Linked DNA regions of Homo sapiens: regions 1, 2 and 3 are each linked to region 4. The links are contacts of gene promoters, found by promoter capture Hi-C in blood cells and fetal thymus (Javierre and others, 2016). All regions are on one chromosome and are shown on one strand. The core of a region is centred on a gene start or on the middle of the fragment in contact, and the rest is flanking DNA. Distances in the headings are between cores, read along the strand shown. Region 1 has its middle 39 kb from the start of PDC. Region 2 overlaps PLA2G4A (phospholipase A2 group IVA). Region 3 overlaps PLA2G4A (phospholipase A2 group IVA). Region 4 holds the start of PTGS2 (prostaglandin-endoperoxide synthase 2).

The links. The method cuts DNA at HindIII sites, captures the fragments that hold promoters and counts their contacts. A CHiCAGO score of 5 or more calls a contact.
Region 1: a contact is called between a fragment that was not itself captured here and the fragment with the promoter of PTGS2 in region 4, in 1 of 17 cell types (neutrophils). The highest score is 6.4, in neutrophils.
Region 2: a contact is called between a fragment that was not itself captured here and the fragment with the promoter of PTGS2 in region 4, in 1 of 17 cell types (neutrophils). The highest score is 5.4, in neutrophils.
Region 3: a contact is called between a fragment that was not itself captured here and the fragment with the promoter of PTGS2 in region 4, in 1 of 17 cell types (monocytes). The highest score is 5.3, in monocytes.

The regions. Positions count from the first base shown.
Region 1 is chr1:186,496,147-186,503,245 of GRCh38, reverse strand. No RefSeq gene overlaps it. Among named protein-coding and RNA genes, the nearest start is that of PDC, 39 kb to the right of the region's middle. The HindIII fragment of the contact is 4,111 bases long and covers 1-3,515 here.
Region 2 is chr1:186,865,661-186,872,376 of GRCh38, reverse strand. PLA2G4A (phospholipase A2 group IVA) reads right to left here. Exons shown (of 18, transcript NM_024420.3): 3 at 1,861-1,942. Among named protein-coding and RNA genes, the nearest start is that of PLA2G4A, 40 kb to the right of the region's middle. The HindIII fragment of the contact is 2,611 bases long and covers 1,978-4,588 here.
Region 3 is chr1:186,842,532-186,849,327 of GRCh38, reverse strand. The region is part of intron 1 of PLA2G4A (phospholipase A2 group IVA); the gene reads right to left. Among named protein-coding and RNA genes, the nearest start is that of PLA2G4A, 17 kb to the right of the region's middle. The HindIII fragment of the contact is 855 bases long and covers 958-1,812 here.
Region 4 is chr1:186,678,752-186,685,827 of GRCh38, reverse strand. PTGS2 (prostaglandin-endoperoxide synthase 2) reads left to right here and starts at 5,405. Exons shown (of 10, transcript NM_000963.4): 1 at 5,405-5,589; 2 at 6,390-6,506; 3 at 6,627-6,770. The coding sequence starts at 5,538. It overlaps PACERR (PTGS2 antisense NFKB1 complex-mediated expression regulator RNA), which reads right to left and starts at 5,174. Exons shown (of 1, transcript NR_125801.1): 1 at 4,382-5,174. RefSeq lists an enhancer at 7,055-7,076. The HindIII fragment of the contact is 7,534 bases long and covers 1-6,160 here.

The DNA of each region.
Region 1 (7,099 bases), core at 211-2,710, 180 kb after region 4:
TCCCTCCGATACACATGATCATTGTCTCTTAAAAGCAAAACAAACAAAAACAAAAAGTCCAGGTTAACTGTCCTTAAAATAATGTCTCAGAAATCCTACCATTGTTTTCCCAGAAATATTTCTGTCATAGAGTCTGATAAATTCGACATTACTTTTCATTGTAAATATGAATAAAATATCACTGCTATACATTGAGACAAAAATCTTTGTTACTTCTATTTTAATTAAAATGTCATTAATGTTTAATAAGAAAAATTATATATGCTACTTACATATCTTACATACCCTAAATAACAGGATAACCCATGTAACTTTTTTAAATGTTAAAGGGAATAATTCAATGCAAAAAAAAAAAAAAAACATTGTGACCAAAAAAGAGAATGGACATGAATGCCTAATGAGCCAAAAGTATATCCTATGGCTCAAAAAGTAACTAGAAAAACCCTAAATTAACAATGATACATCAGAAAAATACAAATAAACTCAGTAAAATCTCAAATATAGCTAAAACAATAACTAAACTGAACAGTTAAGAATTGTGAAACATTAAGCTAAAGGCATTTCTATGTGCACCACACTAGTGATCTATATTGAGAACGTAATATCCCAAGATAAAGGAATTTTTATACCTGAACATTCACACTTAGTAACAGAATTTACTAGCTGGAAACAGACAAGATGATAAGCTAAAACTTGTATGAAAGTTACATGGAATTGTGGGACTATTGAAAAGTTCAAACCACTATATTCAGCCTCTCCTTTTAATGGACTTTTCTATTTCAGAGTAGACAAATGGCTCTAATTCTCCATTCATCAGAAAAAAATTCAGGAATTAAGGTCATTATTCTTATGAACTCCCAATTTAGAGAACATGTGCTTCCAATCTTCTAATATGGGGAGATTTCTGCCAGTGTTTCCAGAAAAAAAAATTATATGCACATGTAATTGTTCATACTGTCTTACACTGTTTATAACCCACTCATTTCCTCTTTTCACTCTTAGCTCTGTTCTAGCCATGAGCATATGTTACTAATAGCTCAGTACCATGTTATGCTTTTTTTTGGCTAGGGCATCTTTTCTTGCCATGGGCCTCAATCAAAACCAGAAGTCTTTCCAGTCACCTGGCAAATGGCAAAAGCAGGATACACAGGTGGGTATATGCTCATTCCAAGGCATATCAAGTGTTGGGACTCTTTCTCAGTGGTACAAGGCCCAAAGTATTGTAAATTGTTTTTCCCTTTGGTGGGGATACCTTGACATCTTCCAGATGTTCTCTTAGTGTTACAGCAGAATCTAGTATCAAGGTTGTCTGGCCTTCCTTTCATTCAAGGGAATCTGATCCTGTAAACAAGTAATTTTAGGAATTGGCTAAGGGATCTGATCACGACTTTTTTCTTTTCATGGCTTAAGGCTTGTTTGTTAGACCTGGAGTTTTTGTTTCTTTTATGTTATGTGGTTGCTCTACTCCCAATTTTTTCCTAGGGAACTCATCCACAATCAATTAGAAGGAGGCAGATAGTTTTTCCAGGCAGGCCAGTCTGATGATCATGCCAAACCACTGCCTGTGATGTGAAGGTCTTGCCTGCTCTGTCCCACTCCCATGGTACTGCTCACTGTAAATTAAGTATTTCATAACAGAATTTCTGGACTAGAGAGAACAGTATTTTAAACAGATGTATTCAAACAGTTGTTTTAAAGATACTTGTGTTTTCTTCAATATGTATTTCAGGTGTTTGCTGAATAGGCTATCCTCTAGACCCTTTAGATTTGACTATGTCTATAATTTCTAAAGTTAAACATTTCTATTATTCTAACATGTCAACTTTCTTTGACACCTGAATGCATTTGCATGTTTCAATTTGTGTGTGTGTGTTAACTAAGACAAAAATAACTGTTACAATCAACTTAGCTAGTCTATTTTATACAGAATCTCTGGTACATTAACCACATTGACAAATTCAGTAAAACTAAAATCATGCTGCACTCTCCTTGGCCAAGCGTCCATAAAATCTATTCCCACATATATTTTCCACTTTAGGATTAACAAACATTGGCATTTTCCTGCTTGCCATTCTTTTGTTGTGCAAAATTTCATTTTCCAAGATTGATTTTGGACTCTGGGGCATGTCAGGGTATAATTCTAATTAATGATTTATGGATGAAAATATGTGGGGCATGAGCAAGACTGTTGACTTTTTTCTCAATGTGAACTCCCTCAGATGAAGCTACATGGGCATGTACCAGCATGAAAACAAACTAGCTTTCTGAATAACAAAGAAGTGTCATTTTCTGTCAAGAAAGGCTCAGTGGGGACTTAGAGGGGTTTGGGGGTTTGAATTACTCTGATGCCTCGGGTTTACTTTTTCCTAATTGATGCACTAACTTTCATGTAAGAAATATAGCAAATTCTGATAGTAGTCATTTTTGCTGTGCACCAAAAATTTTCAATTCTTATACCGGATGGAATTGTACATTCTTGCCCCCTTGAAATTACTAAAGTACATATGACTTGCTTTAGCCAAAGATATATGAGCAAATGTGACCTCTCTCACTTCCTTTAGATGCCTTAAGAGCCAGTGCACAATTCCTCACACTTCCTTTCTTTCCCTTTGCCACAATGACCAGCAATGCCCCAGATAGTCACTGCTGCACCAGGCTGGGTCCTGCAGTAAGGATGATGCAGAGCAGAACTGCCAACCAACCTGCAATGGATACGCAGTACAAGTGAGAAATAAATTCTTAAGTTTTAAGCCACTGACATCATGGAGTTATTTTGTTACTACAGTGTAACCCAGCTCATCCTGACTGATATGACTGTGAATTCAACTGGTGATTAAACACTGAGTTTAAATCTTGGCTCTCTCAGTTCAGTATGTACAAGATATAGGAGATATTTTCAACAACTTTACATAAAGTCCCTACGTTTACATCCATTTTTTAAAATGATATTTTAATATCTTGGGCTTATCATTTTTTTTGCTTTTATTCTTCCAATGCCATCAGAAGGAGCCTCCTTACACTGCTGTTTTTGAATTCCTCACAACCATTATGTTATTTCATGGTAGAACTAGTCTAAGCCTTCAAACTTTATCTTTTAGATATTTTTTCCCAAGTGACTGTAGGTGATAACTCGCCTAGCCTCATTATCACAGGGCATCATATTTGATATCTCACCCTTCCCTCAGGATCTTTGTCCTGAGATTCCTCATCACGATGTCCCTTGCTTAAAAGCAGCAGAAACTGACTTTACTGTAAACAAAAGAGAGTCTATTAGAAGGATATGGGCCTCTCAGAGAAGACAGGAAGTTAGGGGACCAGAATTGATATGGGAAAGAAACCAAGGGAACTCTGGAAGACAAGGGAAAAAGAAGCAGGAGATAATAACTATCTTAGAGCTGCAATAGCGGTTGCTTTCATGAAAGACTTTTGGCTGTTCTCTCTGTCCTTGTATCACTTGCTCAGACCTCAAAGCCTTGGGGAAAACTTTCCAATTAGTGGAGCTTAAATCACAAGCTTACCAACTAGCATTTCAAAGAAGTGGGAAAGAATTGTTCTGACCCATTAAAGTTACAGGCAGAGGTGGGCCTGAAATTCCCTCCTAACACAATTATACACAATGGGAGAAAGGTAAATCCTCAACTAAATCAGTTCTACTAGAAAGAAGAATAGATGCTAATCAACACCACCACCAAAAAAAGATAGTTGTTTGCTAGAAAGTGAGAAAAGGAGAGAGTAATATGGTCCTTAACAAAAGAGAGTTTTATAGCTTCCTTATGTTATTAGGTTATTATAAGAACACAGGAAGTATTCACTTATCAAATGCATTTCTTTCATGCAGGGTCATGTAGTTGAAGACACTTTAGAATAATACAAACCTTAATTCAAACCAGGGTCTGTCATTAAGTGGATGCTTTGGGGCAAGTTCCTTAACCTTTTTGCATCTGTTACCCCGAGAGTTGTCTAGGGGATTCTGAGTTAATATGTATAGAATGCCTGACACGTATCCTGCACTAAATAAACATTAGTTTTCATCCCCTGTGTATTATTAGTCAGGGTTTGTCAGAGGAACAGAACTAATAGAATGTGTGTGTGTGTGTGTGTGTGTGTGGTGTGTACCATAGATAGATAGATAGACAGATAGATAGATTTATTTTATATATAAAGAGATTTATTTTTAAGGAATTGGCTCACTGAGAATAGAGGCTAAAAGCCCAAAATCTACAGGGCGGGCCAGTAGAGACCCAGAGAAGGGCCAGTGCTACAATTCAAGTCCAAAGGCCATCAAGCTAAAGACTTAGGAGGGAGCCAGTATTGTAGTTCAAATATAAAAGTAGCTACTTGCAGAATTCCATCTTGCTCAGGGGAGGTGAGTCATATGTTCTATTCACGCCAACAACTGATTAGATATGGGCCACCTTTATCATGGAGGGCAATCTGCTTTACTCAAAGTTCACAAACTTAAACATTAATCTCATCCCAAAACACCCTTATAGAAATATCCAGAATAATTTGTGACTACATATCTGAGTACTGTGGCACAGCAAGTTGACATATAAAATAAGCCATCTCACCCTAAGAGATGTTATTATTCCACAAAATAGTCTGTCTTTTTCTGGATTCAGCAAAGCACTTCATATTCTGTTAAAACTAGTTGGGAAAAAGGTGCCTGAGACTGGACCTATTGTAGTGATAGGGGTGGCAGGCGTGAGATATGAAATAGCAGTTCCCAGAGGTCAAGTACTCAAGTTTTAGAAAAGGCTCACTCTCAAGGAGTCCTTTGCTATAGCAAGAAAAAGGTATGGCTAGACTCCAAAGAAAATGGTAATATCACCAACACCAACTTCTATCAGCAAATTTTTAACCTGATTTAAAAAAAAAATGAGCTCATTATCTGCAAGCTTGTGACTGAAGAAAACAAATGGCTTTAGGTAACATGGCACATACCAAGAGATGAACAAATATTTACAAACAAGATTCTCATGAAACACGTTCCCCAGGCTGAAAAAGCAGGTAGGGTTCACAAGAGGCTCCTGGATGACCGCTGTAGTTGGACTGTGTCTCCCAAATTTCATGTGTTGGAAACTTAATCCGCAATGTGACAGTGTTGAAAGGTACGACCTGTAAGAGGTTACTGGATCATGAGGGCTCTTTCCTCATGAATAGATTAATGCATTCATGGATTAATGAATTAGTGAGTTATCATGGGGGAGGAGCTGGAGGCTTTCAAAGAAAAGGAAGAGAGATCACAGCAAGCGCATTAGCACATGCCTCCCTATTGCCATGTGATGCTCGGGATTCTTCATGGTACCCACCAGAAAGAAGGCGCTCAACAGATGCACTCTCTCAACCTTGGACTTCTCAGGTTTCATAACTGTCAGAAATACATTTCTTTTCTTTATAAATTACCCAGTTTCAGGTCTGTTATAAACCACAGAAAATGGTCTCATAAAATGACTATGCTGAGGCCACTAGTGCTTTAAGAAGCAGCTACAGGCCAAGAAGGAAAAGATTATCCAGACCTTGTCCAAAAAGACAGAGATTAAGAAATAAATCTCCTCCTCTTTTATCTGTACCTAGTGGCTTCATCAACAACAGATGATATTTAGAAAAAAAAAAACCCAAGCTTTTATCGGGGGGAAATGATTAAGGCAAAGAAACAAAATATCTAAGAAATTTAATAATATAAGTGATCAAAATAATACCACTAAATGAAAATTAATGTAATATTTGAATTTAACCATATGAAATTGCTATTTTTTTTTTTACCAGTTTTAACTTATGAAAATGGCAATTTCTTATGCTTCTGTTTAATATAAGAATAAGAGGCCAGGTGCCATGGCTCGTACCTGTAATCCCAGCACTTTGGGAGGCCTAAGCAAGCGGATCCCCTGAGGTCAGGAGTTCAAGACCAGCCCGGCCAATGTGGCAAAACCCCGTCTCTAATAAAAATACAAAAATTAGCCAGTGTGGTGGCAGGCGCCTGTCATCCCAGCTACTCGGGAGCCTGAGGCATGAGAATCACTTGAAACCTGGAGGCGGAGGTTGCAGTGAGCTGAGATCCTGCCACTGCATTCCAGCCTGGGAGATAGAGTGAAACTCTCTCAAAAAATAAATAAATAAATAAATAAATAAATAAATAAATAAATAAATAAAAAGAGTCAACGCCGGCACAGTGGCTCACTCCTATAATCCCAGCACTTTGGGAGGCTGAAGCAGGCAGATCACTTGAGCCCAGGAGTTAGAGACCAGCCTGGCCAACATGGCAAAACCCTGTCTCTACTGAAAATACAAAAATTAGCTGGGCATGGTGGCACACACCTGTAATCTCAGCTACTCGGGAGGCTGAGGCACAAAAATCACTTGAACTTTGCAGGCGCAGGTTGCAGTGAGCCGAGATTGCACCACTGCACTCTAACCTGGTAAGAGTAAGACCCTGTCTCAAAAAAAAAAAAAAAAAAAAAGAAAAGGGTTAAGAGTCAAGATGAAGCAAACAGGCAAATCCTGTCCTGTAAGTTATATCATCATTCCAAGTCCAAGGGAATATAGTCGATAATTGTGAAAGGGAAGCAGAATTAAATATTTTAAATGCTGACAATTCAATAATATAAAATCATGGCCTTGAAATCTACTAGAGCTAGTAGAACAACTAAATATGATGCTGATGCAGAATGTAATGTGTATCAGACACATTTCTACAATAGAAAGAACTGCTCTCCTTTCTCTTATAAGCAGGGAAGATGGTTTGGCATGGCAAGAACAAGACTCTTTGTGGGCTTGGGGATTAGGGATTGGGGGAGAATAACATATGTTTGTGTATGTATATGTAGGTGTAAATGTGTGTGCATTTGTACATATAGATATAGGAGTATGTATATTTATGTGCATAGATGTGTATGTGTGTAGGTGTGTGTGAAGTAAAATTTTCCAGTCATAATGTGAACAAGATTCTAAAGAAGAGAAATCTTATGCCTCATTACCTCATTCCTGGAGGTCTACATGATATCCTAAGGTCTCCTAAGGACACAAAAGGCAGTTGCAGAATTTAGTTTCTTTCTTCCGAATAGGAAATAGCATGAAGTCTGAACCAAGTCCATTTTCC
Region 2 (6,716 bases), core at 2,034-4,533, 190 kb before region 4:
GCCTCTTTGGTTGTAAAACGCACGCCTTTTCTTAAGAGTATGGTGGGTAATAGTGTCTAAATACAGCTTCTAATGAGGCTTCTCTTTCGCAGGGGCCTTTCTTTCAGTAAATTCTCATTTAAAATGGTGAAAATGAAAAGAACTGTAAAAAGCAAAATAAGAATAACTTCAGAAAAATATTAATAAAGGGATGATTAGATGGGTTAAACTGAAGTCTGAGATAAAATTTAAAATGTAAACATCTGATCGAAGCTAGTTTTGAAGAAATTGCCATTGCTCTCCTCACCTGTCATGAAAACCACTGCTCAGCCAAAACTCTTGCTGTTAGATTCTACCTAACAATCCTCTCCTTGCTTCAGACATTTACCAACTTCCTGGACTCTCCTCATTCACTGATGATATGAGCCTTAAGCTCACATTCTTTCTTTTCTTAGTATCTAACTCCTCCCTCTTTACTGGCATTTTCATTGCCATTTCAACAGGCTGAAGTCCCTCCTGTTCTTTGAAAAAAAAGAAAAACCTATTTTCCACATTCCTCTCCAATATATTTAACATACTACAGTCACAACATTTTGAAAAATGAAAATTCAGTTGTGTGACTTACTACTTAAATGCCATCAAATTCTTTCCATTGCATTAATGAAAAAATCTCAGTCCTAAGTCTTTGTCTTACCAGGGCTTATCATCCTAGTCTCATCTGCCCTTCCAGCCCCCACCTCCGTTATCTATTCTCTAGTAATATTGGGTCGGTTCTAGCTCCTCACAAGCATTCTGGTCTTTTTGCTTTGGAACACGCTGTTTTCTCTGCCTAGGACTTCTTGCTCTCATGACCAAGATACTTCTCCTTTAGGTACCAGTTTAAATGTCATTTGGGCTGGGAACCCTACCTGTTTCCTGGACGATACATTGCAATCTCTGTTCTCTTTCCCAAAACCTGTTTTGAGAGTTAAATTATCCATTCCCATATTAACAATCTAAGATGTTAAATCTAAGACATTATTAAATCTAAGATGTTATCAAATTCATCATCATAATACTTTGTTGTATCCATTGTTATTTGTATTCCCACTTGCACGAATTCCAATGATTTAAATAATAAGATTCTACAAGGAAAATTGCCTTTTTTAAAAACATGGAGAAAGATACTGTCAACAAGTTAATTCAGCATTATCCTCAGGCTGTGGATCGCATCATTTCAGGCTGTCCTATACCAGTTTCTATGGCTATTCCATACAAAATAAACACACTCAAAGGCATAAGAACTAGAGAAAAACTACATTTTAACAATTCTAAGTGCATAATACCTCACAGAGGCAGCTTGTTTAAAGTCTTTACTCAGTATTCTTTTAGAAGCAAAATTGAACAAAATTTCTTTGAATTCCCAAGATGTGTACGTCACAAGAAAATCATTTTGTCTGACTCCAAGTGATCTCGGCTAATTTAAGGCCCAGGTAAAATGCTGTTCTGACAGATAGCATCAGAGAACTGTTCGAAATGTTATCGTTCAAAGATCCAGACAAACATAACCACATTTGAAGAAGGCAGAACCTCTGATTTGTCAAGGAACTCAAGTAATTAAAGGCTGAACCATAATTATACGTTTAACAGCAAAGAAAATAAGGGCACTCTTACGCATGTCACCAAAGGCCCCCTTTGTCACTTTGGCTAATTTAAGGCCCAGGTAAAATGCTAATCTGACAGATAGCATCAGAGAACTGTTTGAAATGTTATCATTCAAAGATCTAGACAAACATAACCACATTTGAAGAAGGCAGAACCTCCGATTTGTCAAGGAACTCAAGCAATTAAAGGCTGAACCATAATTACATGTTTAACAGCAAAGAAAAAAAGGGCACTTACGCATGTCACCAAAGGCCCCCTTTGTCACTTTGGTGGCACGTAACACCACTACCGTAAACTTGTGGGAATACTGGTGCTCCACCTGGAAATAAAATGACAGTAAATTTAAAATAAGCTTCCAACATAGAACCTCATTTTTTCCTTGAGATTAATTTAAAATATTCTACTTAAAAACAAGTAGCATGCATACCAGAAACATTCTTTGATGTAAGGCTGCTTCTTTTTTGACTCTCTTCTCTCTCATCACAGAATCATTGAGTTTAGATTGTGCCTTAAAATGTCACTACAGCTTGACTATGAGCACTTCTTTGCAGTCCAGTTTACCAAGCACTTGGTAAAAAATGTAAATCAGGACTGCAGGTATTCTAGGAGCACAATCAGGCTTTGTACTTGTTGACTAGGAAGCCCTGGCTTATAAAGGTGAACTCAGAGCAAGACATTCTAGATTCGTTTGTTGTTGTTGCTGTTCACTGAAGCAGTCAATCAAAAGTCTTTTCTGCATGACATTTCCAGTACAGCTTTCAAAACCCTATGGAACCAAGGCAATAAGCAGCAAACAAATTGCACTAATTGTAATGCATTTGTTAGAAATCATATGCAAGAATATTAAAATTTGCTATTAGCCTAACACCTTGCATAAACATAATAAAACATTAACAGGTAGAGGACTTCATTAGACACTTCACCTAAATGGGAAACAGTTATCAAACAATTCTACTCACTAAAGCAGAATGAGGAAGCAGGAACTCACATAGTTCTTGGAGCAACTGAGAAGATTACAAGGTCTTTATCTAAAACTCAAACATTTCTTGTTTTAATCTTAGGAGAGTTCACTTCCCTTAATTTTAGTAGGCTTGCTTAACTGGTTGAAAAGTTCATAATTGATTAAAAAGAGGCTCAGATACTGACAATACTGAAAAGTGAGCAGTGACAGTCTAAATGCAAGGAGGCAAAAAAAATTGTCAAAAGTGTAGACAGATTGATAAGGACCAGCAGTAGTAGAATATATGGACAAAAATTAGACAGCACTCAATAGCTTCTGTAGAAATCACTCCATCAATAATGTAATTAATATTTCAATTTATAGTACAGCATCAAAGAGGTGAAGACATGAATAATGAGCATACCTTGTTTAAAAAGGCAGGGAAGCATAAAAATCTTTCAAAATAATGCTTATTCAACTTTATTTAAAAAAAGAAATACCTTCAACATCCAAGAGTTGAGTAGCCAAAGTTTTATTATACATAAATGATCAATCATAAGAATATTTGAAACTAAATGAAATTGACAGTACACCTTGTCAAAATTTGAATGATGCCTTGAAAGCAGTACTGAATGGGAAATTTATAGCACTGAATGCATATATTAAAAAAGAAGAAAGAACTAAAATCAATAATCTAAGTTACCACCTTAGGGTACTGGAAAAAAAAGAGCAAATTAAATCCAAGGTAAACAAAAACTAATAAAAATTAGAACAGAAATCAATAAAATTGGAAACAGGAAATAGAAAAAATCAATGCAACCAAACTTTGGTTCTTTGAAAAAATCAATAAGATCAATGAGCCATTAGCCATGCTAAGAAAAAAAAAAAAAAGGATGAGAGAGAGAGAACAAAACTACTAATATCAGAAATGATAAGGGACATTATTACAGATCGCGTGGACATTGAAAGGATAACAGAAGAAATACTACAAACAACTCTATGCTCACGAATTTGATAACCTAGATGAAATGGATCGATTTCTTAAAAGATAGAATCTACCAAAATTTACATAAGAAGAAATAGACAATCTAAATAGGTGCATATCTATTAAAGAAATTGAATCAACAATTAATAACCTTACAAAACAGAAAGCACCATGTTCACATGGTTTCACTGTTAAATTCTACCACATGTTTAAGAGGAAACTATATCAATTCTTGTATCGATTATCTACAATCTTTCCAGAAGATAAAAGCAGAGGGAATGCTTCTTAAATCTTTCTTGGAGGCCACCATTACCCTAATTCCAAAACCAGACAAAGTCATTACAAGAAAAGAAAACTACAAGCCAATATTTCTCATGAACATACTTGCCAAAGTTCTCATCAAAATATTAGCAAATCAAGTCCAACAACATAGAAAAAGAATTAGACACCGGGCGGGGCCCAATGGCTCACGCCTGTAATCCCAGCACTTTGGGAGGCGGAAGCGGGCGGATCACCTGAGGTCAGGAGTTTGAGACCAGCCTGGCTAACATGGTGAAACCCCATCTCTACTAAAAATACAAAAAAAATTAGCCGGGCATGGTGGTGTGTGCCTGTAATCCCAGCTACTTGGGAGGCTGAAGCAAGAGAATTGCTTGAACCCTGGCAGCAGTGGTTGCAGCAAGCAAGATAGCGCCATTGCACTCCAGCCTGGGACTCCAGCAGGACTCTGTCTCAAAAAAAAAAAAAAAAAAAAAAAGAATTATACACCGTGACCAAGCGGGGTTTATGTCAGATACACAAGGCTGGTTCAGCATTCAACAGTCTATTAATTTAATCCATATATCAACAAGCTAAACAAGAAAAATTACATGATCATATCAACAGATGAATAAAAAGCATTTGACAAAATTTAACATCCATCCATAATAATAAAAAATTTCAGTGAGCTAGAAATAGAAGGGAGCTTTATCAACTTGATAAAGGACATCTACAAAAAACCTATAATTAATGTCATATTTAATGATGACAAAATGGAAGCTTCCCCGAAAAGATCAGGAGCAAGGCAAGGAGTTTCCCTGTCATCACCCTTTTCAACATTGTACTGGAAGTCCTATTTGATGCAATAAGATAAGAAAAGGAAATAAAAGGCATATAGATTGAGAATGAAGAAATAAAACTTTGTTTACAGATAACATGAACGTCTATGTAGAAAACCCAATATAATCAATTAAAAAAAAACTCCTGGAACTAATTATGTGACTATAACAAGTTTGCAGGAGATAAGATTAATACACAAAAGTCAATTGCTTTTCTATATACAGAAATGAACACGTAGACTTTGAAATTAAAAACACAATACTACTTATATTAGCACTCCCCAAAATGAAATAGTTATAAATCTAACAATGTATGTAGAAGATCTATATGAGGAAGAATACAAAATTCATATGAAATAAATCAAGGAAGAACTAAATAAATGGAGAGATATTCCATATTCATGGATGGGAAGACTCAATAATGTAAAGATGTCATTTCTTTCCAATGTGATCTATAGATTCAACAAAGACCCAATAAAAATCACAAAATATTCTGTGAAAACAAGTAACTGATTCTAAAATTCATATGAAGAGGCAAAAGACCCAGAATAGTAAACACAAATTTGAAGGAGAAGAAAAAAATTAGAGGACTGACCCTATGCAACTTCAAGACTTACTATAAAGCTACAGTAATCAAGACAGTGTGATACTGGCAATAAAAAAAATACAAACAAAAAAATAAACAAACAAACCAGATCAATGGAACAGAAAACAGACGCACATAAATAAAGTCAACTGATCTTTGACAAAGGAGAAAAGACAATAAAATGAAGCAAAGATAGTCTTTTCAACAAATGTTGCTGGAACAACTGGACATCCACATGCAGAAAATGAATCTACACAGATGATAACTGGGCCTGAAATACAATGAGAAAATGCTCTTGAAAATCTAACTTAAAAATTAGCTTTCTCCACAAAAGGAACCATCTCAATAATAATTATTATACATAATGATGCTCCCCTCCCAAAATCATCTATGCTTTTTTGCATATCTAAGAACTTCTAATATTACATGGGTTTTCAAATACCTAGGAACCTTCCTTGTATCATAAAAACTATGAGCAATATTTTTTATCCATTATTTAATATTTGATTTTTGAAGTTGCTGCAAATATATTCATATTCTAAATGTTATTAATAACATGTACAAAAAGATTGTTTTTATTATAAGGACTCATTGAATGTGAACCATATGTCATACATTCTACTAGACACCAACTGTCATTTAATATTCCAAACAACCCTAAAGAATAGGTGTGATTATATTTATAAATGAGTAAAATGAGACTCTGAGAGGCTCAGTAATTTCCCAGTTACTCATAGATAGTAAATGGTGAACTTTTACTAGAATTCAGCCTTGCTGTTCTGTGTCTGTGCCCATCTCTTTATAAGAGCTTTAAGGATTAATAAGAGAGTAACTATAATAAAGTAAGCACATATTCTTGGAGAAAGATGTTCAGTTTCAATCGATGATTATCCAAATAGTCTTTTGAGAACCGCTTACCATGTTTCCTGGGGCCACTATCACATGCAATTTCAAACTAGTCCAGACTGCACTAGGTTTCAACTTGGATAGGAGATGTTTGGTTATATCTCACGGATAGTGCCAGAGGAAATTATATTACTGAATTCACAACCAATATTCTCCAAGGGAAACTAATGACTCAGGACAATGGTGGCTGGTAGTTGGCAGAGAGAGATGTCATATTTCAATTGAGATGTCAAATCTAAGCTCAATCCGACTTAGTCACAAAGATTAAGCTTTGCCTTCAGGTTTTGGATTACTTTGAGTGTCTTTCTGCATTTAAAATCATTTCTATAGTAAAAACCAAGACAATTTTTCATTTCAAAATTACAATTTTCTATTCAGTAGGAAAACAGCTACTGTATTAAATTCATTCTGGATAAGTATATTGATATATGTAACTATGATTGGCATTGAAAAAAAGAACCAATTTATACCAAATCAATTTGATGATCTTCCTAATCTGTTTAAAACTCTACTGTTATAAGACAAGAACCAAAGAAACAATCATAAAATAAAGTTGATGGAAAATAAAGTAGATTCTGA
Region 3 (6,796 bases), core at 136-2,635, 170 kb before region 4:
TGTCTGTCTTTCCTGGGAGAACAAAAGAGGCATTAAGTCAGTGGCCATATTTATCTTATTAATAGAGACATCCCTAGTGCCGAATACAATGGCCCAAATATAGTAGGTTCAGAATAAAGATTTGTCCAATGGATGGATGGATATTCAAAGTAGTGCCAGGTTGATGCATAAAGAATCCACAGAATAGTGCCACACCCTCTTTTGATGTCTCTCTTTCTTATTCCTAACAATTCTTAATGTCAAATGATGTTAAATTAGCTCTCTATTTATTTAAAAAAAGCAGAACAAGTGAGATTCCAGAGGGGGTGAAATTAGTACTCAAAATGTTTAGAGGAAATCTGTTGCTGGGATCCAAAGTTTAATGTCAGCAATTTTATTTCCTCTTCTCATTTCCAGCAACTTCATTCATAACCACTCTGTTCACCACCTATTATCCACTACTGTATCTTACAGCAAGACTTGGATAGAGACTCTCCTGATATTAAATCCAAAGCAAGAAATATGCTTAAGATAGCTAACTGTCCAAGTCTAGTTTCTCTCTCTCCCTTCTCTGCCCCCTTTCTGTGTGTATGTATGTGTGTATGTGTGTGTGTGTGTGTGTGTGTAAAATCACTAGGTTAAGAACTACAAGATAACTAGAGAGTAAACAAACATGACTCATGGCATTTAATCTCAAAGCAACTTTGTCTTGTTCTTTGATTCTATTCAGGGCTAACTCTCCTTCTACCCTGATGAAATCTCAGGCAGCCTCAGAACTTTTCTGTTAACTTGGATGTGAAAGGAAGAAAAGAAAAAGGAAAAGAGAAAAAGAATTAACCCAGTCACTGCAGACATTGAAATGCCGGGTTCGTTGAGTTAAAGTCTCTCTCCTGCTCAAGGTAGAGCTTGTTGCAGGAGAAAGGGGATGAAGTCATTGACTTCTCCCCTCCCCTGCCTATGGTCAAACCCTCCCAAGCTTGATAACTCTGGTTTTTAAACCCTTATAGTTGGAAAAGGATGCAGAGAGAGCGAGAATAGAGGCAAGAAAAATATTACTTCAGCAGTACTTTTATAAGCTGGTTTTGTGATCTCTTGGCTTGGTACATGTTAAAGCTGAGTCTTTCTTTCATAGATGCTTTTTGTGGATTCTTCTGAGATTCTCTGTTTTTGAGATTTCTTCCTTGTGTTCCCTGACATGCACAAACGCATCTCTACTCCAGCTGGGGGCTTGTGTTTTTTTCCACAGCCCCAGTGCATCTTGTGGTCCACTTCCAGTTTTCGTTTTCTGAGGTTCTTTCATGTTACCAGGCAAACGCCTTGTATAGGATTTAAGATTCTTCCCAGGGTTCTCTTTAGTCCATGGACAATACTCATACATGTTTTCTTTCTTCCAACAAACCCTGAGAATGCAATTACTTCCTAAATGAAACTATTCTGCTACTTGTGTCCTTTATATTTCCCAAGTATGACAAGACACCAGCCTACTGCAGAAGACAAATGTTAAACCCTCTGATGAGCGTTCTCAGTGGTCTCTTTAAAGCCCCTCTCTTGATTGGGAATTAGTAGGCATATTCCTCTCCAGATCTCCACCCCAAGGGAAGAGGGGCTGTACTCACAGCAGTGCTCTCCAAAACAACAACAAAACTCTTCTGAAGCTCTTCCCACATCTCTACTATTTCAATGCTTTTATAACTGTGAAGTGGGTAAGTTTTATATATTATATAAATGTCCTTGTCCATCTGCTTTCTTTAAAACACAAAGAGTAGGCTGTTTCACTATCCATTTTAGTAGTGCATGTCTTAAATCTTATGGCTTAAGGTCTTGGCCAAAGCTTCTACTTTAAAGTCCAATACATAGGTGAACCAGCTTACAAAATGGCAGAACGAGGAATGTGGGAAATCCTCTCCCAGAAAAACAAACACATTGACAAAACCGGGCAGAATTATTGCAAACAACTATAGACACACACACACACACACACACACACACACGTATGAAATAATAGCACAAAAGAAAGGAGATGGAATGGAGGTATACTGGACCAAGGAAATGACACCAGATCATAATTGAACCTACAGAAAGAAATACAGGGTACCAGTAAATAAGCTCTATCACATTTTCAAACAGCAGACCAGTTATTTACCATTTCTCTGAAGCCTTTTCTATTTAACTGTAACAGTAAATAGGTAGGTTAATATAAAATAGTCTATAAATATTATATTGTTCAAATATAAATATATATGTAGATTAATATAAAATATTCTATAAACATTTCCTTTTCTTCTCTCAAATTCTTTAAAAGATATAGCATTTACATAGCAATAAATTATAATCCTATCTAATGTATACAACAATAATTGCAAAAAGGAGGAGCGGTCAGGGACTAGAACTATACTGCAGAAAAGTTTTTGTATTTTACTGGAATTAAGACAGTATTGATATGAAGCGGACTATAATAAATTAAGGCATAGAGTTTAATTCCTAGAGCAACCACTAAGAAAATAACTCAAAAATATAGTTAAAATATCAATGAAGGAATTAAAATGGGCCACGACAAAATAGCTATTTAATATAAGGAACAGAAGAATTTAAAAAAAGAGACATGGAAAACAGCAAAATGGAAGATGAACATCCAACCATGCTTCCAATAACATTAAATGTGAGCGATGTAACATTCTAATAAAAAAGTAGAGGTTGTCACACCGGATAAAATTGAATGTATATAAAAGACTAATGGAATCCAAATAAGGTTTGTCGTTTAATTAATAGCACTGTACCAATGTCAGTTTCCTGGTGTTGATAATGTACTGTGGTTGTCAGATGTCACACTAGGGAAAGCTAAATGAAGGGTACATGAGAGCCCTGTAATATTTTTGTAATTTCTTATCTTAAATTATTTCAAAATAAAGTTTATTTTAAAAATGTAATACATATGAACAGATCTAATTTATATTTATAAATTTTATTCCACAGTTATGTTCAAGGGAAGAAACAAAGACCTCCTATGAAGAAATTACTGAAATAGAATCACTTCCTTCAGGATAAAAATCACTAGCCATTATTGTCAGGCAGTGGCTGCATGTCCAATTCCAGTTAGGAATAGGCAGCCGTCCTTTCTTTTTTCTCTCTGTAACTGTTAATAGTAGCAGCAGATATTTTAGGTTTCTGCAAAATTAAGGCATTTCTGTCCAACTAACCACATGAAACAGTAGGAATTTTTTGTCCCAGAATTAGCTCAGTTCTGGAAACCTTACTGCAACTAGTTGGCACAACCACTCTCATGAATACTCATAAAATAGCAGGGTTTCTATTCCTTTGTTTCTTATAACTAAGCTAAATAACCAGTCTTAGTGAGTGTACAAAGTCTCTTAAGTCTGAAGTAAGAGATGTGAAACTCACAGGGTTTTTTTCTTCCTTTCTTTTTTTCCTTTCCCTGCCCTGTAATTAGAAACTTTCAGAACATGAATGAGAGGGAAATTTGGATAGACTTTTCAACAGATACTTCCCGATGCAATGTAACTGTTGGCATTCAATGAAAGTTTAATAGTATGTGGTCTTTCCAAAACGTTTAGTCATGTTGTCAGGGCAAGATGGACTTCTCAGGAAAAGTGAACAGAAACAAAAACCCAGACTAGAGTGTTTTGTCACTTCTCTCTCTGTGTACAGTGATATGACAAGGGGAAAAAGAGGGGATATTATTAGAGTTGTGGCATGTGGCGGGAAGAGGGATAGGAATGCAAAAGATTCTTTTCTCTTTCCCTCCAACTCATTGTATAGACGCGTGGAGATATTAAAAGGTTGAGCATTTAAGTGGCAGCAACTTCTTGACTGCAGCCAGAATGACCCAAGTTCTAGCCTGTCTCCTCCTTTCTCTATCTGTGGGATCCTGACCCTCAGTTTCCTTGTCTGTACGTAGGGAAAATCGCCCCTAATCCTCACAGAGACAGTGGGAGGATGAAATAAGAAAATATATGTAAATCACCAAGCACAGTACCTAGAAGGCCATAAATGTACAAAATAATCATTATTATTATCATTGTTTATGAAACTGGTGATGATCCCCCTCAAACTGCCTCAACTCATGCAAGTCACAAGTATTTAATTCTATAGAGAGTTTTTGTTTGTTTGTTTGTTTTGTTTTTTTGATGGAGTCTCACTCTGTCACCCAGGATGGAGTGTAGTGCAATCTTGGCTCACTGCAACCTCCGCCTCCTGGGTTCAAGCAATTCTGGGGCCTCAGCCTCCCGACTAGCATGGACTACAGGCACCCACCATCATGCTCAGCTAATTTTTGTATTTTTAGTAGACATGGGTTTTCACCATGTTGGCCAGGCTGATCTCAAACTCCTGACCTCAAGTGATCCACCTGCCTTGGCCTCCCAAAGTTGGGGGATTACAGTGTGATCAGGTGTGGCCTTGGCCTCCCAAAGTGAGGGGATTACAGGTGTGAGCCACTGCACCTGGCCTCTATAGAGATTTCTAAGAAATTCAAGTAGGCAAATTTATTGAGCACCTTTTATAAACACCAAGTACATTTTCATATACAACAATAAATTTTTTTTATTATACTTTAAGTTTTAGGGTACATGTGCACAACGTGCAGATTTGTTAAATATGTATACATGTGCCATGTTGGTGTGCTGCACCCATTAACTCGTCATTTAACATTAGGTATATCTCCTAATGCTATCCCTCCCTGCTCCCCCAACAGGGATCTAGAACTAGAAATACCATTTGACCCAGCCATCCCATTACTGGGTATATACCTGAAGGATAACAATAAATTTTTAATAGAAACACTGATTTTTTGATCCATTAACATTTTTAAAAGTAGAACACATTTGGACACTAACTTGTCCGCTGCCAAATTCAAAGCTTTCTCCACTATACTGGATATGGAAGCATATTCTAAAAGCAAAGAGAGCATTATATTACTATGTTTCCATCATCATCATTCTTATAATGATATATAGTTACTAAGACATCACTAAAGTTTTAAGCTTTTAAGTGAATTTGATGGTGCTTTTTTTGTAAACTAAGGCTATACAAAGAGTTTGATATTGCCAACCGGCACAAAGGAATAAAGAAACAATAGGAATTCAGATGGGTAAATGAGATGCTTTATATTAAAAATGTCTCTCAAACCATACTCTCAGTTTACGACAGGAACACCTCCCTGTTCCCAAGGAAATGTAACAGCATGCCTCCAGACACAAAGGCACAGAATAATTAACTATGTCTGTTTCTTGAGCCTGGAACCCAATGGTATGGAACTTGCCACTAAGTCCCACAGTAGTAACAGGTGGTGCCATATGGCTGATATCCATACTGTTCCTTTTAAGATTTCCCTCTCCATTTGTATTCCTAAGTCACAGCTTCTTAATCTATCAAATTTGTATTCTTCAAATCTCATTATAATTACATAGACAAGTATATATGAAATACCTACTAGAGTTTCAGAGAAGAGAGAGATTCCAGTGGTTTAAAGTAGAAACGGCTTCAGAGAAAATGGTAACTGATCTGACATTTGAAAACGTGAAAGAGCTTAGATCTATAGTAAGAGGAAGTGGAAACATTTCCTCTAGGAAAAGGCCATGACGTTGGAGATACTCCATCCTCCTCAGGCTCTCAACTGGTGCTTTCCTTACCCACACCTCTGCAGGATCATGTCCGCCTGTCATTCAGGGTTCTGCATAAATTCACTCTCTAAAGTCAGTCATCTCTTAATTTATCTACTAGATTAGGACCCTTGTACCTTTCCTTGAAATCTCTTATCACAATATTGTATACTAGACTACCATTATACACGTGTCAGTCTTCCATAGCTGTGAGCAGCACAAAGGAAGTTCTGTCTTCTCCCTGTATTCCTGTTGGGCCCGGAGTGATAATTCAATTACTATTGACTGAAGGATGAATAAGCAAACTGGGGGATTTGCATGATGTACTGGAGAAAACTGTCTAGATCATAAATGTGCTCTTGTCTTAAGAAACAATCAAAAGGAAGTAGATTACATTTATAGAATCTAGAATGTGAAACTGGAATATATCTTAGCAGTTGCTAATATGAACACTTAATTTTGAAAATCCACACTTGTTAAACATTTCCCAAGTACAAGATACTTTAAGTGATTTATATATACCATCTCATTTAATCTTTATAACAAGATAGGGATTATTATCACTACTTTTGAGATTAAAAAAAACAGATTTGGAAAGGTAAGTAATTTGTTTAACTGACAACACAAACTAAGGTAGACTCCCACAACCAATCTCTACAAAAGAATAACTGTCTCAAGAAGAATAAAAAAGTTCCCAGGTCATCTGGGTTAACATGGGCTGAGCTGGCCCTAGAATCCCCTTTCTATGTCATTTTTTCACTCTACAAAAGACCCTGAAGCACAGGCAGAGTTTCTGAGAAATTATACAATAAGCAATAGAGTTATTCGAGTCTTAGCAGGGAGGTGGCATGATGAAAGTGGCACTTTGTGTTAGTTTACGAGGGTTGCCATAACAAAGTATCACAGACCGAGTGGCTTAAACAATGGGAATTTATTTTCTTACAGTTCTGGAGGTTGGAAGTCCAAGATCAAAGTTTGGCAGCTTTGGTTTCTCCTGAGACCTCTCTCCTGGGCTTGCAGATAGCTGCTTTTCGCTGTGTCCTCACATGCTCTTTCCCCTGTGCACAGAGTGCCTGGTGTCTGTGTGTGTTCAAATTCCCTCTTCTTTTAAGGACACTAGTCAAATTGGATTAGGACATGCCCTACCAGCCTCCTTTCAATTTAATGAGGACTTATCCCCAAATACTTTTACATTCTGA
Region 4 (7,076 bases), core at 4,156-6,655:
GTTATCTATTATATCTATTTAAAATAAGAAAAATAGGCCAGGTGCAGTGGCTTACTCATGTAATCCCAGCACTTTGGGAGACCGATGGATTGCTAGAGCTCAGGAATTCGAGACCAGCCTGGGCAACATAGTGAAACCCTGTCTCTACTAAAAATACAAAAAAAAAAATTGCTGGGCATGGTGGCATGGGCCTGTGGTCACAGCTACTCGGGAGGCTGAGGTGAGAGGATTGCTTGAGCCTGGGAGGCAGAGGTTGCAGTGAACCAAAATCAAGCTACTGCACTCCAGCCTAAGTGACAGAGTGAGACCCTGTCTCAAAAAAAAAATGAAAAAGAATTATTTTTATTTATCTTCACTTATTTCTTCTCTAATGCTCTTTGTTTCTTTAGTATGTAGATCCAAGTTTCTAACCTGTATCATTTTTCTTATCTCAATAACTTCTTTTAACATTTCTCACAAAGCAGATCTACTGGCCACAGAATGCCTCAATTTTCATTTGTCTGAGAAAACCTTATTTCTCCTTCACTTTTGAAAGATAATTTTGTAGGGTACAGAATTCTAGGTTGTAGGTTTTTTCCCCTCAAAGTGAAATATTTCATTCCACTCTTTTCTTCTTTGTATGGTATCTGAGAAGAAGTCAGATGTAATTCTTATCATTATTACTTAAAAGATTGCTTCTGTTCCTTTCTCTCTTCTCCTTCCCTTCTTTCCTTCTCTGTATATTACACCTTTTATAGTTGCCCCATATTTCTTAGATATTATGTTTTGGTTTTCTTCTGTGTTTTTTTCTTTGATTCTCAGTTTTAGAAGTCTCTATTTATATATCTGCAATCGCAGGGATTCTTTCCTCTGCCATGTCCAGTCTACTAATAAGCCCTTACAGACATTGTTGACTTCTGTTCCAGTGTTTTTGATCTCTAGCATTTCTCTGATTATTTCTTGGAATTGCCATCTGTCTACTTACATTACCAACCTATTCTTGTGTGTTGTCTTATCATAGTAATTGCAGTTGTTTTAATTTCATAGGTATTGTAATTTCAACATCTCTACCATATTTGACATTGATTCTGATGCTTGCTCTGTCTTATCAAGCTATGTTTTTGTCTTTTAGTGTGACTTCTAATTTTTTGTTGAAAGCCAGGCATGATGTACTGAGTGAAAGAAACTCAATACATTGTAATGTGACGATAAGAGTTCAGGGGAAGTGAAGCATTCTATAGTCCTATAGCAGGTCTCGGCCTTTTAGTGAGCCTGTGCCTATGAACGGTGACTTTCAACAAGTGCTTTTCATTCCACTCTTTTCCTGTCCTTAAGTGGGACAAGATCACTGGGGGGGGGCTAGAATTGGGTATTTCCCTTCTCCAATGTAGAAGCTAAAGAGAGGGCTGGAGTTGGGTATTTTTCTTCCCCTGTATGGAAAGCTAGAGGCAGTTAAATTTGGATATTTTCCTTCTTCTAATTCAGTTAGGCTGCGACAAAAATCCCGACAGTTTAGGCTCTAATATTATAAAATAATTTCTCTTGAGTATAGGCCTTATTAAGAACACTATACTCTGATGGAGCTGAGGGGGAGTTTTCTCTGATATTCACTGCGAGAACCTCGTAGAGCTCCAGGAAGCAAAACTCACAAAAGTGTGGGAGTCTTCCAGAATTTTTCCTTTGCAGACTTATCTGCACTGAACCTCCAGAAATTCATCAATTACAGTTCAGGTTTTCCTACCCAGGTACTGGTTTTCATGGAGGTTTCTGCCTGTGCATTTCTGCTCCAGTAAGTTGTTCTTCTTGTATGGTCTGTCTTTCAAATTTTTTAAGTAGGGTTATGACCTGTCGCCTCACTTCTCTGACAGTTCTGAGAGTGTTGATTTTTCAGTTTGCTTAGATTTTTACTTGTTTTTAGGATGAAGTGACAATTTCCAAGCTCCTCCCTGACATGCCAGATCAGAAACTGAAAGTCCTAAGCCTCATATTCTGTGCGTGGGTATGTTCACATCCTGCCTGCTCCAGTGCCCCCACCTCACACTCTCTTTCCCTTCCTTGTCCCCTTGTGAGATTTCTAGGTCCAATACAAAGACTGTGTTCAACTCATTCAACTACTTTGGCTCATCTGAGTATTATAATGAACAATCACAAAAAAAAATGAAGTAAAAGAAAAATCCATCAAAGAATTGAGATATTTGAGAAAAAGAAAGGAGATCAGTGTTTTATAAAACTTAGAAATAGATTTTTTAAGTGTTTCTTCATTGACTTATGTGAAAGGACTTTTCTTAATTTAACAAATTATGTGCTTTCGTTTATAGCCTCAAAACTTCTTGTGTAGCTAAGAATGGGTAAATAATCAGGCTTTACTAAAGGACTAACGTAAAGATCTTCTGTAAGTAACATTTCTGCTACTCAAGGAAGAGATAAACTTCATGGCATAACCTTGCCAAAGTATACTAAGAATAACCCTGACACAAAGCTCTTTTTTCAGCCAACATGCCATGAAAGAAAGAAGACAAGGGGTGATCTCCACTCTCTAAGTGAACCACTAAACCCACCAAAGAAGAAACGAGGGAAATAGAAAGAGGACCCTTGCCTGAGATAATGGATCTGTATGTATGAGTAGTAGAACCCTGCTCAAAGTACAAGGAAGGGAAAAAAAAGTTAGTTTATTTGGAATTTTGGACATTAAGAGTCTTTATTGTTCATTTTCTTTTAACTCACATGAATGGCTTATCACTTCAATTAATAAATATTTCATTTCTTTTCAACATATTCATGAAACAAATCTGAAATGAACAGTGCAACATGTGAATGTTTAGAACATTATAAAATTAAACACAAAATCTGTCTGGCAATCTTCCTAGCATCTTAGGAAAAAAGTTGACAAAATTTCAAGCAGCAGAAGGGGGCAGTAAAACTCAACAGAAAGCTCTGGAAGATTTTTAAGATTCTTCCTTATTTTCTTTTCATGTAGATTATTTCCCAACAAATTTCAGACGCTAATAGAAATTTTGTACAACAGATCCATATATTTGCCTAAAATAGACACAGAAACATTGAATATATGCAAACATGAGAGCTATAAGTTTTACATGATCAAACCTTTTTTTTATGGTACACAATAGTCACAGTACTTTTCCATATAAAACAGGTTTAGTGGTCTTAATTTAGTTTGGCACATTTAATACACTCCCATGACCAGCATCCCAAATGTACCTATCCGTTTTATTTTATTGTCTCAGAATTGTCAGTTATTTAATAAATTATGTAACTTTTTTCCTTATGCTCAGATTTGCACTTCTTTCTAAAACTCTGCCCATCCTTAAAGTCCCAGATTCTCCTTGAACTTTTTTTTTTGACTTTCCAAGTACATGGAACTCTTCACTCTATCCTGCTATATAAGTGACAGAATTTCCACTATGGGATAGATGGAGTTCAATTCCTTTGAGTTTAAAATAATCTAAATATAATTATTCCTTATGCCCTGTTTTTCCCTCACTTTTGTATCCAAATCTCTTTTCAGACAACAGAACAATTAATGTCTGATAAGGAAGACAATGATGATGATCACTTCAAAATGAATTCAGGATTGTAATGTAAAATTTTAGTACTCTCTCACAGTATGGATTCTAACATGGCTTCTAACCCAAACTAACATTAGTAGCTCTAACTATAAACTTCAAATTTCAGTAGATGCAACCTACTCCTTTAAAATGAAACAGAAGATTGAAATTATTAAATTATCAAAAAGAAAATGATCCACGCTCTTAGTTGAAATTTCATGTAAGATTCCATGCAATAAATAGGAGTGCCATAAATGGAATGATGAAATATGACTAGAGGAGGAGAAAGGCTTCCTAGATGAGATGGAATTTTAGTCATCCGTGTCTCATGAAGAATCAGATGTGTACACTAAGCAAAACAGTTAAAAAAAAAACCTCCAAGTGAGTCTCTTATTTATTTTTTTCTTATAAGACTTCTACAAATTGAGGTACCTGGTGTAGTTTTATTTCAGGTTTTATGCTGTCATTTTCCTGTAATGCTAAGGACTTAGGACATAACTGAATTTTCTATTTTCCACTTCTTTTCTGGTGTGTGTGTATATATATATGTATATATACACACACACATATACATATATATATTTTTTAGTATCTCACCCTCACATGCTCCTCCCTGAGCACTACCCATGATAGATGTTAAACAAAAGCAAAGATGAAATTCCAACTGTCAAAATCTCCCTTCCATCTAATTAATTCCTCATCCAACTATGTTCCAAAACGAGAATAGAAAATTAGCCCCAATAAGCCCAGGCAACTGAAAAGTAAATGCTATGTTGTACTTTGATCCATGGTCACAACTCATAATCTTGGAAAAGTGGACAGAAAAGACAAAAGAGTGAACTTTAAAACTCGAATTTATTTTACCAGTATCTCCTATGAAGGGCTAGTAACCAAAATAATCCACGCATCAGGGAGAGAAATGCCTTAAGGCATACGTTTTGGACATTTAGCGTCCCTGCAAATTCTGGCCATCGCCGCTTCCTTTGTCCATCAGAAGGCAGGAAACTTTATATTGGTGACCCGTGGAGCTCACATTAACTATTTACAGGGTAACTGCTTAGGACCAGTATTATGAGGAGAATTTACCTTTCCCGCCTCTCTTTCCAAGAAACAAGGAGGGGGTGAAGGTACGGAGAACAGTATTTCTTCTGTTGAAAGCAACTTAGCTACAAAGATAAATTACAGCTATGTACACTGAAGGTAGCTATTTCATTCCACAAAATAAGAGTTTTTTAAAAAGCTATGTATGTATGTGCTGCATATAGAGCAGATATACAGCCTATTAAGCGTCGTCACTAAAACATAAAACATGTCAGCCTTTCTTAACCTTACTCGCCCCAGTCTGTCCCGACGTGACTTCCTCGACCCTCTAAAGACGTACAGACCAGACACGGCGGCGGCGGCGGGAGAGGGGATTCCCTGCGCCCCCGGACCTCAGGGCCGCTCAGATTCCTGGAGAGGAAGCCAAGTGTCCTTCTGCCCTCCCCCGGTATCCCATCCAAGGCGATCAGTCCAGAACTGGCTCTCGGAAGCGCTCGGGCAAAGACTGCGAAGAAGAAAAGACATCTGGCGGAAACCTGTGCGCCTGGGGCGGTGGAACTCGGGGAGGAGAGGGAGGGATCAGACAGGAGAGTGGGGACTACCCCCTCTGCTCCCAAATTGGGGCAGCTTCCTGGGTTTCCGATTTTCTCATTTCCGTGGGTAAAAAACCCTGCCCCCACCGGGCTTACGCAATTTTTTTAAGGGGAGAGGAGGGAAAAATTTGTGGGGGGTACGAAAAGGCGGAAAGAAACAGTCATTTCGTCACATGGGCTTGGTTTTCAGTCTTATAAAAAGGAAGGTTCTCTCGGTTAGCGACCAATTGTCATACGACTTGCAGTGAGCGTCAGGAGCACGTCCAGGAACTCCTCAGCAGCGCCTCCTTCAGCTCCACAGCCAGACGCCCTCAGACAGCAAAGCCTACCCCCGCGCCGCGCCCTGCCCGCCGCTGCGATGCTCGCCCGCGCCCTGCTGCTGTGCGCGGTCCTGGCGCTCAGCCATACAGGTGAGTACCTGGCGCCGCGCACCGGGGACTCCGGTTCCACGCACCCGGGCAGAGTTTCCGCTCTGACCTCCTGGGTCTATCCCAGTACTCCGACTTCTCTCCGAATAGAGAAGCTACGTGACTTGGGAAAGAGCTTGGACCGCTAGAGTTCGAAAGAACTCCGTGGATATTCCAGCTTTCCCACAAGCACTGATCATTATGAGCCAGTTACTTAACCGATCTGAGACACTCTCACCTCCTAAATAGGGATAGATGATACTAATTTGCAGGTTGTCATTATGATAAGACAGGATCTGATCAATATATGTGAATTGTTTATATTTGGAACCTTTTTATTGAGTGGAAGAAGTTGTTTTAAATATTCTAGTCAGTTCTTTCCTGCTCCCAGGAAAGCCCGGATTATGTTTTAAGATAAGCAAAATGTCTTAAAAGTAAGCTGTTTTACTTTGAATTTTTCCCTAAATGTTGATTAGTGTACTAGATCCATTTTAATTTGGAAAGTGAAGTGCTACTTATTTGAACTTCTTAAAAATGCTAATTTTAACATCTAAAGAGTTAACTAAGAAAAGCTTAGTAACATGATGTACCAAGTTGAATATGCTGTTATCCTTATTTAGAATAGAAAATTGGTATTTCTACGTTTTATCCATTCTAAGGCAGGTTAAAAAATTGTATTTCCATGACTACCTATATATTTCTTGAATTTATTATTGTAAAGTTGATTCATAGTCAAACAATTAAATGTTTAAATTAAGATTAAGACACTAGAGAATGATTTATTTGCTGTCCTTTAATTGCAGCAAATCCTTGCTGTTCCCACCCATGTCAAAACCGAGGTGTATGTATGAGTGTGGGATTTGACCAGTATAAGTGCGATTGTACCCGGACAGGATTCTATGGAGAAAACTGCTCAACACGTAAGTTTGTCCTTTGGTTGCCTCATTAGGAGTGGGGCTGGATACAGTTATCATTGTATAGATTTGTGTCTTATAATGAGTCCCATTAATTTCTCCCTCCCTTTCTTCGTCTTCTTGCAGCGGAATTTTTGACAAGAATAAAATTATTTCTGAAACCCACTCCAAACACAGTGCACTACATACTTACCCACTTCAAGGGATTTTGGAACGTTGTGAATAACATTCCCTTCCTTCGAAATGCAATTATGAGTTATGTGTTGACATGTAAGTACAAGTGTCTTTCTAAGGTTTTTAGCCTTCTCAAAGAAAAATATGCTTTATAATACTGTAAGCCTAATCTAAAAACATATTTCCAAGCTTATCAAAAAGACTTTAAGATAGCTTTTAAGTTTGCCTTCCATCTTAATCGCCAAAAATATTGACATTTAGTCCCATCCAGTTTATACAGTCTGCTCACAACTCTGTATACCTCTTCTAACCTTTACTGTTTGGTCAGTTTGTGGAGGTAGCATGGTCCAGCTGTTTATTGAATGCCCATGGGCCACAGAATTGTTCTGAACATGTAGCACC